Regions from separate parts of the Homo sapiens genome. Here all the other regions are linked to region 2. The links are contacts of gene promoters, found by promoter capture Hi-C in human tissues and cell types (Jung and others, 2019). All regions are on one chromosome and are shown on one strand. Each heading gives the region's core, a stretch centred on a gene start or on the middle of the fragment in contact. The rest is flanking DNA. Distances are from core to core; before and after follow the strand shown. Region 1 has its middle 62 kb from the start of ST8SIA3. Region 2 holds the start of BOD1L2 (biorientation of chromosomes in cell division 1 like 2). Region 3 has its middle 29 kb from the start of ST8SIA3.

What was found. Contacts are between HindIII fragments. The study calls those that stand out against the background at their distance.
Region 1: a fragment that was not itself captured here is called in contact with the fragment with the promoter of BOD1L2 in region 2 in 6 of the 25 tissues and cell types used here (H1 embryonic stem cells, adrenal gland, heart left ventricle and 3 more).
Region 3: a contact is called between a fragment that was not itself captured here and the fragment with the promoter of BOD1L2 in region 2, in 2 of the 25 tissues and cell types used here (H1 embryonic stem cells and mesendoderm cells).

Annotation. Positions count from the first base shown.
Region 1 is chr18:57,287,987-57,292,414 of GRCh38, reverse strand. No RefSeq gene overlaps it. Among named protein-coding and RNA genes, the nearest start is that of ST8SIA3, 62 kb to the left of the region's middle. The HindIII fragment of the contact is 3,065 bases long and covers 717-3,781 here.
Region 2 is chr18:57,144,953-57,149,164 of GRCh38, reverse strand. BOD1L2 (biorientation of chromosomes in cell division 1 like 2) reads right to left here and starts at 2,078. Exons shown (of 1, transcript NM_001257964.2): 1 at 1-2,078. The coding sequence starts at 1,852. The coding sequence ends at 1,334. RefSeq lists an enhancer at 1,314-1,909. The HindIII fragment of the contact is 20,182 bases long and covers 1-3,646 here.
Region 3 is chr18:57,320,964-57,325,726 of GRCh38, reverse strand. No RefSeq gene overlaps it. Among named protein-coding and RNA genes, the nearest start is that of ST8SIA3, 29 kb to the left of the region's middle. The HindIII fragment of the contact is 5,987 bases long and covers 1-4,501 here.

The DNA of each region.
Region 1 (4,428 bases), core at 1,000-3,499, 140 kb before region 2:
TACCTCTGTCCCCACAACAAGCTATGGCTTTGCTTCTACTGGGATGGGCCATCATGCTCAGATCTGACGTTGCCAAAAGCTGGTGAGAGAATTCAGCCAAAGCCAGCTCTTCAGCAGAGGAAACAACAGTCCTGTGAAGTGAGGATGATAATAGAGATCTGTTGCTACCTCTCGCAATTTATTTTACCTCTCTATGCCTCAGTGTTTCAATATGAAAGTGGGGACATCTACATTCCTGGTCTTGTAAGGAAGCTATCTTAGTCTGCTTGTGCTGCTCTAACAGAATCCCCAAGGCTGGCTAGTTTATAAAAAACAGAAGCTCATTTCTCACAGTTCTTGAGGCTGGGAAGCCCAAGATCAAGGCACCAGCATCTGGTGAGGACCTTCTTCCTGTATCCTCACATGACAGGAAGGCAAGAGAAACTGAAGGCTGACTGAAGCCTCTTTTATAAAGGCCTTAAGGTTATTTACCAGGGAGTTCTCATGACCTAATCATCGTTTATAGGCCCTACCTCTTAATACTATCACATTGGCAACTCCTGAATTTTGGAGGGCACACATTTAAATTATGGCAGAAGGCCGAGCACAGTGGCTCACACCTGCAATCCTAATAGTTTGGGAGGCCAAGGCAGGTGGATCACCTGAGGTCAGGAGTTCGAGACCAGCCTGGCCAATATTGGGAAATCCTGGCTCTACTAAAAATACAAAAATTAGCTGGGTGTGGTGGTGCATGCCTGTAATCTCAGCTACTCAGGAGGCTGAGGTGGGAGAGTCGCTTGAACCTGAGGCAGAGGTTGTGGTGAGCTGAGGTTGCAGCACTGTACTCCAGCCTAGGTGAGAGAGTGAGATTAACCTCTCAAAACTGAAATGAAGTAAAATAAAATAAAATAAATTATAGCAGAAGCTATGAAAAAATGAATTAGAGTGATGAGAGACTTCTGAGAGAATCCTAAAAGCAAAAAATATGTGAGTGCTATTTTTACTATTAGAAGTTCTGTGAAGATTAATTTTAAAAAGGTTGCAAATACTCTTGAAGATCTCTGAGCATGGCGTATGAATTGCTGAATGTGCTGGAACCTCCCCATATCATGCCCTTCTATGGTACCCTGATCACATGCACCATCCAATCACATAGATAACTCTGTGATTATTGTTGTTGTTGTTGTTTTTTTTTTTTTTTTTTTTAAGAAACAATAATTTTGAAACAGGGTAACACAAAAGGTAAGGGAGCAATTAGTAGCATGTATGTCATGAAGCACCCTGTAGATCACTTATATTAAATTCCAAGTCCTTTTATTAAAAAGCACAAATCTTTTCATTTTTGTGAAGAGCTTCCTAAAGACTAGGATGGTTAAATAAAAGGTAATCTGGCGTAGAAGGGAAGCATGAAAGAATTTCCAAAGTATGTTGCTCACCCCTCAATGTGGACACAAACTACCCTAGGCATGAGCATTGGGTTGACATTGGTTGGCTTCTGTAGCAGATGCCCATAGCCCCTTGAGTCTCCAAAAGGCCAATGGCTTCCTCCTGCAAGGAAACATGATTCTGCTTGAGGGCTTTCCCTGCCACTGGAGTGAATTGCTCAAGAGCCCCCCTCAACCCAAGCCAAATGAAAGTTGGTGGTTAAGCTTCCTCATTCCCTGAGTAGGATAAATCTGAGGTGTGTCCTACTCGCTGTCCCAGAGGCCCTCAAAGGCATTGGGCCTCAATTTCCCACAGTGGCAACCTGGGCATTCATAACTTTATTGGCTTCCTTTGCTTACTTTGCTCAATTTCCCACTAGCCAGTATACTATGCTTCCTGAGAACACTTCCCAAATAAACTGCATGTTCCAAGACTCTTGTCTGAGGGATTGCTTCTAAGGAAACCCAAACTAAAACACCTTTTTTTTTTGAGTGATATATTTTGGTGCCCAATCTAACCATTGAATATGGAGTCGTGTTCATAAGGAATAAGAAATGAAAAAGAAAAAGTTGGAAAATTTTCCAGTGTCAGACTTTCCCATCCTTGAAGCTTGCATGGGAAGAAATCAGAAAAGAAATGCCTGGGGAAAAATTTGACAGAATCAGAAATCTCCAAGTTTGGGTGTATCTATGGAACACAGTTGTGTTGACAATAGAGTTTGGTGAATTAAAAAATGATTCCTGTGATGAGAAAATTAGACTTTCCCAATAATAAAAATAATCATTCAACATGAATTTTAAAAATCATCACAGTTAATCCTGATGCAAACCCAGGACTAAGACCTACTACTCTATTCATTTAGGTTTATGACATTAAAATGCCATTATGATAGCACTATTTATTTTCTGTTTCTGTGAGCCAGACATTGTGCTACGTCCTTTGCATATGCTATCTCATCTAATTGTGACAGCAACTTTTGAGGTAGGAATTGCTTTTTTTGTTACCTGTATTTTGCAGATGGTGGGTCTGTGTTGAGTAGTTAAGAAACTTGCCTGAGACTGCACAGTTTCCTGCTTTGTAACTGAAATTCAGGCTGAAATTTAGCTTCCTGCTTTTCTCAGGCTCAACGTGTTTGTATACTTTCTCTCTTTCTTAGTGAAATTTACCAAAGATTCGTCTCGTCAAAGGACAAGCATTGTTTTTGTTGATTAATTTATAATTTCTTTTAAAATTATTTTTACTTCCTTTCGTCTACTTTCCTTGGATAATTTTGTTGTTGTTGTTTTTGCACTTCCTGATTTGAAAGTTAAGTTCATTTAACTTCAATCTTTTGTGCTAATAAACTTGTTTACTGCTATTCATTGGCTTCTAAGTACCACTTTGGCTGCATCCCATAAGTTTTGTCATGTAGTGTTCTTGAGTTGTAAACAGTTTGTAATTTTCTTGTATTTCTTATCAAGCTTGGGAGTTATTTGAAAATCTGTTTTCAGATGTTTTTTGTGGTTATCTATTTGTTGTGGATTTCTAACTGGATTACATTGTAGTCAGTAAATACTCAACATAATAACAACTTTTTCTTTTTGGTCTATTAACAGAGCAAGGGAAGTTCCAGAATTGCCAATGGGTAGAAGGGAATGCTGCACCTGTATTGGCTCCATAGCTTTTACCTAAAATTGAAGAAATATCATTTGTTCATGTTAAAGAATGGGAGGGATGGCTGAGGGGGATTATGAGAAAACCAGAATCCTTCTTCCTACCCTCAAGCCTGTCACTGGTACAGACCATTAAAAATAATTTTTGGCCAGGCACGGTGGCTCACGCCTGTAATCCCAACACTTTGGGAGGCCAAGGCTGGTGGATCACGAGGTCAAGAGATCAAAACCATCCTGGCCAACATGGTGAAACCCCATCTCTACTAAAAATACAAAAATTAGCTGGATGTGGTGGCCCATGCCTGTAGTCCCAGCTACTTGGGAGGCTGAGGCAGGAGAATTACTTGAACCTGGGAGGCGGAGGTTGCAGTGAGCTGAGAGTGCACCACTGCACTCCAGCCTGGTGACAGAGCGAGACTCCATTTCAATAATAATAATAATAATAATAATATTTTTATATTCCCTCCCCACCTTTGTATTTCCTAGCTTGGTGACTTGGTCAAAATAAATCTTTAACATATGTTGAATTGAACAGTTACACCCATCATAAAATAATTAGCACTATGTACTAATATAAGATGCATCAGCAGAGAGAGCAAAAAGAATTAGAGACAAGATTGGGGTGTCCAGGAGTCACCAACTGCCCTGAGGGAGGAAGTGATCGTTGAACAGGGCCCTGCAGGAATAAGATGAGGCAAAGTGGAGTGGAGCAGGGTGCTTTCCATGCAGAGAGAAGGATCAGCAACCTGGTGGTGGTGTCAGTGCAAATCATGTTCATCAGCATGAAGGGAGAAATGTAACAAGTAGAGTTTGACTGCAGCAAAGAATTCATGCTTTAGAGTAATGGGAAATCAGGGTGACTGAGCAGGATAGGACCAGCATATTCAGGCATTTTAAGTTTAGAGCAAGAACTTTAGTTTCATATGGGAAACAGGAGTCACCATTGATGAGGCTCGACAGATGTGTTAAGGGGGTTAATCTAGCAGAGATGGGCCACATGAATTAGAAAGGAGAGAATAGAGTGATAATGAAGATGATGGTATAAGTATAGGGGATGTTAAGAAGGAAGAATTGGCAGGACTTGGGGACTAATTAAATGTGAGGGTTGAGAATAGGAAGGAGAAAAAGATGACTCCTTGGTATCCAGTCTGGTGGGCTGGAAGATGGTAATGACACTCAAGACCCAGGATAGTAGGTCTTAAAGAAAGACCATGAGTTTGGTTTTAGATATGTCGAGATGGAGAACCTCTGAGGGGAAAGGTTTGAAAATCATCAGACTGGAGAGAGAGAGGTGGCAGAAAGGTTGCAGAGAAAGCTGCAAAAGCCAGGGAGATAATTTTAAGGAAGTCTGTGTGCCTGTGTGTGCACCTGT
Region 2 (4,212 bases), core at 829-3,328:
GGGCTCTGTGCTCAATACAGGCTCAGCCCCAGCCCCACCACTTAGGCAGTGTCTGAGCTTTGGTTTCTACATTTATAAATGGGAATAAAAATGGGAATAAAGATACGATTTCTTCAATTAGATCATGAGGACTTACTACGGTAAGCGAAGTTAAGCGTTTAGTACACTGCCAGCTGTAGAGCAATAGAGCAAGTGCTTCGTCAGACCTAGCTACTATAGTAAGTGTGGTCATCCCTTATGAGATCTATGGGAGCACAGAGGAAGGAGTCTGTCACTCCTGCTTAGACGATGTGTGGCTCCTCAGGAGCTGAGTCTTAAAGGAGGGTAGGAGTGGTTGAGGGCATTCCCTTCACAGTGAGCAGAGGGAACACAGGGTGTCCAGGATAGTCATGGGCATGGTTGTCATATGAGAAATGACAGTGTACGGGGCAGCAGAGGTGACCAGGGGCCCCATTATCACGGGCCTCATAAACCATGCCAGGTGTCTGACCTTCTAGAAATATCAGAAAACTGACGGAGCTTAAAGAGGAAAAGGATGTAAATCTGCATTTCTTTTTTGTTGTTGCAGTTGAAAGATAAGCCATTTATTGACCATCCACTTTTCAAATAAAACACAAATGTGAGCATAACATAAACACACCCAAGACTCACTAGCCCCTGCAAGACAGGAAGCATTCTTGGACAGAGAGTCTGCAAATGAGTTTCCTTATACCTAATGTCTGAACTTCTCACTCATTCTAGGGTTTCATGCTTTGTTATCTCTTACAAAGGAAAGGAAACTGGCTAGAAGATTCATGTACAAGAAGGTCACAACTTCAAAGCTATCTGACACTAATGTTGTGTACAATCTAGTTTGCAACTCTGAGAGACAATATCAAATAAGTACTGTCAAATATTCCTCCCAGTTAACCTTTACTGTCATTGTTCTTTGAAATTGTCTTTGGGATTGGTTATGTTCTCTCGCTGTAGCTTTCGTTTATCTCAGAGCACAAACCCTAAAATCCATGTGCAGTCTCCATGTTCAAGTATAGATGTCTGTTTCAGGACAATCCTGGGTCGCGGTAGTGTTTCCCTCTCTGTAGTGTGTGTTTGGTGTCATGCCCTTGGAAAGGCTGGCCAAATGGCAGCGCAATGCAGGAGGGTGCCACGGTCAACTTTCTCTCTGGCGAACTTGCTTCCCTTTCAATCTGGTCACTGCTCATGGTCGAGGTGGAAATCTTGAGCTCAGTGATGAACTTGGCTTATCTTCAATCTGAAACTGCACTCTTATGTAACCGAATCCATTTCTTCACCAAAAATTAAATAGCGCTTTCAAAAGCTGTCAGGCATATTCTTAGGAAGTGTCCTGAGACGGAGCTGGAGGGTCCTGGCCTTCTGGCTCTGGAGGGAGTGCTGGCACAGCTGCTTCTTTCTGGGCCACCAGGAATTCATGAATTATTTGTTCTATTTGTGGCCTGAAGATGTGGTTTAGTTTTGGATCCACCACCTGAGAACTAATCCTGTCCACTCCAGCTTCTGACCTCCCTGACTGAACCACACTCTGCCTCAGACCATCGTGCAGTTGGTTGTCGTTTGCTGGAGGATTCCATTCCTGCTTGTCCAGATGTGTCGACACAAAATTATCCGCTTTCTGGCTCAGGTTTTGGTAAGCTGGCTTGGTGTCCACGTCAGCCTTGCAGTCCCGGCGGAAGCTGTCAAAAAGGCCCCTGCTCTTGAGCTGCCCCACGATGATAGCGATGAGCTGAGGGTCGCCAGGGGGCAACGAGGCCGGGTTGATGGGGCCGCCGCCCCCGCTGGCCCGGGTCGAGGCCGGGCCCGCACCGCCGCTGCCGCCGCCGCCACCGTCCGCCATGGCTGCGCACCGGGCCCACAAGGAAACCGATTATAGCTTCTTCTCCAGGACAGAAAGCCTAGAATGTGTAGAGGTGGCTAAGGGGGCGGTGAAGGAGGAGGGCCCCAAGGAGGCAGCGGCGGAGGTGACGGTGGTGGTGATGGCGGCGGGGCCGGTGGTTGGGGCGGCGGTGGGGGAGGCCAGCTCCAGACCGCGGAGGTTGTGGAAGACGCGGCAGCAACCGCCTGCTGGATTCCAAGCGCGCTCCAGATGGCGTCACCGTTGACCTTTGCATTGTGAGGCGGGAACCGTAATCTGCATTTCTTAAAAGATCTCTAAGAGGGAGGTGGGAAACAAATGCCAGTGGGCAAGGGCGAAACAGGGAGACAATTTCAGCAACCATTTCAGTGCCCTAAGAAGGAGATGGCGAGGAGTGAATGATCTTCGTGGCCTGGCAGGTGAAGAAGGTAACAGGGATACAAGAGATATTTAGGAGATAGACTCATCCCAGGGATTGGAGAACAACGGGGTGAGGGACGAGGGAAAGGAGAGGGTCAAGGATGACCCCCAGGCTTCTCACTTGGGCAGGTGCATGGAGGTGCCATTTACTAAATGGAGAACAGGTATAGAGGTGAGGATGGGAGACAGAGACATGATCGTGCATTCCATTTTTATTTACTAGTTTAAGATGGGTATGGGTTATTCAGATGCAGACATCTGCCTATGAAGTCCAAAGATACAAGGACTAGGGGCTGGGGAGAGACATCTAACTCACTGAAGGTAGAGACTATAGGTGGCAATTACAATGGAGAACTTAGAAGAGATAGAGGAACACCTGGAGAGCCCATGAGGGGGACTGAGAACAACACTAAAAAGATGGAGGGAAAACTACAAAAGCCTTGGATCATAGACCGCAAAAGGTACATTTCATGAAGGCCATGGGTGAAATGCCACACTATGTTCCACAAGGTGTCCATTGGCTTTGGTAGCCATTGATGAGCCTAGGGCAGATGTGTCAGTCAGAAGGAGGTCATTTCAACAAGAGAACTGTATTGCAACCAAGAGCCACAAAAGGCAACCACATCCAGCGCCATCCAATAGAGAAGTGCAGGTGCACAGAAAGAACCTTCTATCAATATTTCAAAAGAAAAGCAGATCCCTGATTTCACCCCAACACTCACTTCCCTGAATTAAAATGCCCCTGAGATGTAGACACCACATTGTTCTATAAGCCGTAACATAGCTTAAAGGTAGTATATTTCACAAAGAAAGTTTACACAACAGACTCTGTCAATAACCTCACCCCATAGCTTCTGACATACAAGTACAGATGCCTCAGATGGACGTATTCTGAATCTCATCCCACAGGAGACAGTGAACCTACCAAGACTTCACCACAGCAACCCCCTACCTATGCTCCTCACCATCCCCATGATCAGCTCGACAATTCAGTTCTGTATTTTTTTAAATTAATCAATATTTATTGAGGGACTAGTCGATGTGGCCCTGTGCTAAGCTTTATGGAGCTCTCCACGTGCCTGGCCCAGTCTAACACTCAATAAATGTTTGCTGTGGCTGTTGTTTAAGACAGGCAACATGGCCAGCCTTTGAAAAGCTTACAATCTAGTTGGAGAGGGGAGATGTTGACAGAGAAAACCATTGAGGACATACACAAGCTCCATGGGAACTTAGATGCAACATGCACACCTAGCATGGTGCCTGGAACAAAAGAGAGGCACCATTAATATTTGCAGAATAAAGATTGCATAGATGAAAGGAGGGTGTCCCTGTCATGTGTTGGAGAACACTGAAGCCTGGGAGAACGTGGCAGATGGAAGAAGACTTTGCAGAAGTGCTGGAGCCTGAACTGAGTCTTCATTTATCCCCTCACTGTGCATGAGCCCTTCAGATTGCACAGGAGTTCTCTTAGAATGCAATCACCTATGTGGATCCAAGATGAGATCTATGGGGTTCTCCAATCACAGCCTCACCCACAGAGGGACACTTACCTAAGCTTTTGAAAGTGATGATAATAACAATCATATTGCAGTGTTCCATTCTGTACTGAAAAATGTTCACTGTCAAACACCTTTTCTCCACATCCTCCCCAAGTCTTAAATAGTGTGCTGGCATGGTTTTTCTGAATAGCTGACTTGTGTATTATTTGTAATCATAAACATTAAGTTACCATAATTATCCCATCACCTTGGATCAGGGTTTAGGGCACAGGACAGTTCTCACCTCTCACCGAGGCTTCAAACCACTGCTCCCGGTTGCCTGGCAAACTATAAGGCCACTAGAGTAACTTCCCTGACCTCTAGCTGACCTGCAGGGATCAATGAACAATTAATTACTATCATCCCACTCCGGGAGAGATAGCA
Region 3 (4,763 bases), core at 259-2,758, 180 kb before region 2:
ATATTTATACATTTCTTGCTATGTGGAAGGCACTGTGTGCTATGTGGTGAATATGATAGTTAGCAAATCTGGTGGAATGTTTTCTTTAGTGAGGGAGATACACTTTGATCCAAGACTTTTACAAATGTAAACTACCAGCAGGGTAGGGGTTATGGAGGAGAGGTGGTGGTCACAAGAGGGATAACAGAGGGAACTGGCTTGTCAAGGAGGTCAGAAAACAGTTCCCTGAAAATGTAATGACTGGAAGCTGAAGCTGGAAGCTGAAATCTGCAGGAAGCATAGGAGTTAATTAGGGCAAGAAAATGGGAGAGTGTCTAAGAATAAGGTAAGAATGTGCAAAGGCCCTGTGGCATGGTGGTTTCAAAGAGCTAAAATAAGCCACAACTGATTGGCTAGCATCAGGGGTGAGGAGAATGGTAATAAATGAAGTTGGAGAGTCAGGCCAGAGGCCAGGCTGTGTTAAAAATTTTGGTCTTTATCGGAAAAGCTTTTGAATGGCTTTTAAGCAGCGTGTGTGTGTTTGTGTGTGTGTGTGTGTGACACACACAGAGAGAGAGAGAGAAAGAGAGAATAGGTGATATAGAGAAGTGGATGGAATCCATAGATATTTGGATTTCTGGCCTGAGCAAACTCATGGATGAAGGGTGGTAGTATTTGCTGATGCAGAGAACCATGGAGAAGGAGTGAATGTGGGATGAACATGAATTTGATATGAGTCATGTTGGGTTTGAGGCATCTTTGAAAAACCTACATGAAGATGCTGGGTTAAACCTCCCCATGCTCACAACCCTTGTTGTTTTGGGTTGTTCTTCTAAGTGTCCCTGGCTGGCGGGAGACCTGCCCTCCACAGGGGCCAGCCTGCTAAGCCCTGCACTTTTGCCCTGAGCAAGGCTTCTTAGAGGGGTGTGCCCTCCGCATAGTTCTGTGTCCTGTTGGAAAGGGGTCTGAGAAATTAGCTGAACGAAGGTGGCAATGACTCTGAAAGCCACTGTGAACCTCCTCATAGGTACTTGTTGTTTAAGAATGACACCTGAGCCTCTCAAAGTTACAAAGCCCTTTCTCAACCACAGGACTATTGACATTTTGGACAGGATAACTCTTTGTGGGAGGCTGTCATCTGCAACGTAGGATGTTTGTTTAGCAGCTTCCCTTCCTTCTACTCACTAGTTGTGACAATCAAAAGTGTCTCCAGATATTGTCAAATGTACCTCGGGTCGGGTGGAGGCAGAATTGCTACTGATTGGGAACTGCTGCCATATACAATTTCATTTGGCCCTTATCATATCTAGGTGGGCAGAGCAAGTTTTGTCATATGAGAAAACCGAGGCTCAGAAAGTTTAAGTTGTTTGCCCAAGATCACACAGCTACACATTTGTGGAACTGGGATCAGAGCCTAATTCTTTTGACTCCGAGTGTGGGCCCCCTTCCATGTTTTTTTTTAAACAGTACTGCTTTCTAGTTAAGGCATAGCAATGATGATGAATTTCCTGTCACTGTGGCAAACTGCTAGGAGAAGATATTTTCTGCTTCTACCTAGGTAGCCCATTAGTCAACTTCATCAAATGAGGTTGACACCACAGAACATCCCAAATGCTAATGACAGAAATTGATGGTGCTAAAATGCTGTTGTGTGTGGTGATGGTGGGAGGATCAAATATCACATTCAGTATTCAAAATTCTAATAAGGGAAGTGGATTAATATTTGTCATTGACTCATTTTTTCTTCACAACCACTCTGTGGTATTGTGGAGGTAGGTATCATGAGTCCCATTTTATGGACAAGTAAACTGAGGAAACTTAACATAAGTTACATGCCCAAGGTGGCTCAGCTAGCAAGTAGCCAAGCTGGGATTGAAACTCAGGTTGGGGTAAAGGTAAATTCCTGAATGCTCCTGAATGCAGCCCTGCTGATTCCTCATGGGGTGCATGGGCTGAACCAGATGGCCTTGAAGGGCCCTTTTAATGCTCCCATTTAATGATTTCAATTACAAAAACACTGTTAGGGGTGAAAAAAAGCACCCAATATAATCCTAATGTGAGTGGTCTGTTTCTTTGTGCTGTTTTTCCTTGAATACCAGGGGTACCTCTGTGGATGTGTGGAATACTGATATGGGTTGGCTGTGTCCCCACCCAAATCTTATCTTGAATTGTAGCTCCCATGATTCTCATGTGTTGTGGGAGGGAAATTGAATAACGGGGGTGAGTCTTTTCCATGCTATGCTCATGATAGTGACTAAGTCTCACAAGATCTGATGGTTTTATAAAGGGGAATTTCCCTGCACAAGTTCTCTTCTCTTGTCTGCTGCCATGTGAGATGTGCCTTTCACCTTCCACAATGATTGGCAGGCCTCCCCATCCATGTGGAACTGTGAGTCCATTAAACCTCTTTCTTTTGTAAATTGCTCCATCTTGAGTATGTCTTTATCAGCAGCATAAAAATGGACTAATACAAATACTAATGCCCATTTTTGCCCCGTCTTATTAAAAAATCAGACTCCAAATAAAGCAGTAAAACAAAGCTTGTGGAACTTTCTTAACAAAGAGACATTGGTCCACTCCACTCCTTTTTCCTTTATAGCAGTCTGCTTTGACCTGGGGAAGGAGGTGGGATTTGCTGGGGAATAATTAGAAGTGAAAAGATTTAGAAGTGGCCTAAAGACCCAAAAGCAGGACAGACACTGGGCAAACTCTTTGGGTGGGAGGAGGCTTTCCTAGCCTCCCATGACCTCCTTTTACTCTGGGCTCCTTTGTTCCATACTCCCTCCCTCCCCCTGGAAGTGCACAGTGTCCTAAATCAGAGGATTGCTACTCCAACTACACATTAGAACTGCCCAGGAGACTTTAAAAATATATACCGGGTCCCCCACAAGATCAATTAATTCAGAACTTTGGGACTGGGGCGCATGATTCTAATGTCTCACCAGGGCTGAGAACCATTGCCATCTTTATCAAGCTCATCTGTCCTGGCTTCCATTCTTTTTGGGGACTTGATGAGAGTAAGCTGTTAATGTGAGAAGCTGGATTAGACTAAGATGTTAGAAGTTACAATCGTTTAATGGGTCAGTCTTTGAGGTGATGTATTTGTATCTTTATAGGAACCTTGGTCTATTCCTGCCTGTTCCTTCCCTGCCAAACTGCAGGTAATAAAGGACCATCACTGTTAGAGTCCCCGCCAGACTCCTCTGGCAACATATGGGGAACTCCTCACCACCAGTGAGGTGGGGGTATCTGGGGAAGGTCTGATGCTCACATAATGGGCTCCCCAAATTGCTGCTATTAGCCACTTCTTCCATCGCACTCCTGAGCAAGAGCCATGGCTATCCATGTGCTCAGCCCTGATCCAGACAACAGACGATCCTGACTGAGGCAAACCTGGCACATCAGCCTAGAAGGGCAGAATTAGGTTAGCTGCCAAGGATGGAACAGATCTCACATAAACAGTTTTGCCCCCTTCTTTCCCATATTAACCTAGCCCATACCACTGGACTCTGCCTCAGTTTCCCCACCTGGACCTCCTGTTCCATATTGAGCCTATAACCTTGCACTCAATCTCATCCAATCTCCTTGTGGATTCAGCTCTGTAAACAGCCTCCACCAACCAGATTGAGACTTCTCGGACCTGCAAGGAGACCACCTGGCCATGCCTCTTGGCTCCTGGCCATTGGTTGGCTCACTTATATCCTGGAGACAGACCCTCAGCCAGGTCTGTTTCCACAGTCCTTGCCATGCCTACCCCTGATTGCTGACAACATCTCCCCCGGCCCATCTTCACAGCCTACCAGCACTGGATATGACAGAGGGGCAATCATGGATCATAACATTCAGAACTAGGGCTTCCATTTGCCCTTCAATATTAACACGTCATCAAAGGAAATGGGAGAACCAAAGTAGAGCCACATATTACTATGAAGAACAGAATTTGGAAAAAGCCAGTGGTAATCAACATGATGAAATGAATGAGAGGCACCAGTAAATCCCAGACCTAACTAGGCCAAGTTGAACCATGTGTCTAAAGCCAAACTAAATTAAAAACAATAAAGCTTCAATTAAGAATCAGTCTGTTGAGTAATCTACAGAGTTGAAGGTCCGCTAGGAGTCAAGTACAGTTATTCACTATATAATGACATTTTAGTCAACAATGGACTGCATATATAGTGGTCCCATAAGACTAAAATGAAGCTGACAAATTCCTATCACTTGTGCCATCTCGATGATCCTGACTCTGTGTAGACCTAGGCTGATGTGTGTGTTTGTGTCTTAGTTTTTAACAAAAAAGTTTAAAAAGTTAAAAAAAAAAGATTTAAAAATAGAAAAAATGCTTATACAATAAAGAAGTAAAGAAAGTATTTTTGTATAGCTCTACAATATATTGTGTTTTAAACCAAGTGTTAACACAAAAGAATAGAAAAGTTAAAAATTTCAAAAATGTATAGAGTAAAAAAGCTAAGGTATGCTAAGAGTAATTTGGAATTGAAGAAAGATAAATATTTTTAAATAAGTTTAATGTAGTCTGAGTGTATGGTGTTTATAAAGTCTACAGTAGTGAATAGTAATGTTCAAGGCTTCATGTTCACTCACCAGTCACTCATGGACTCACCCAGAGCAACTTCCAGTCCTGCAAACGCCATCCATGGCAAGTGCTCTACACAGGTATACCATTTATTATCTTTTATGCTGTATTTTTATTGTACCTTTTCTATGTTTAGATCTATTTGGATATACCAATACTTACCATTGTGTTACAATTGGCTATAGCATTCAGT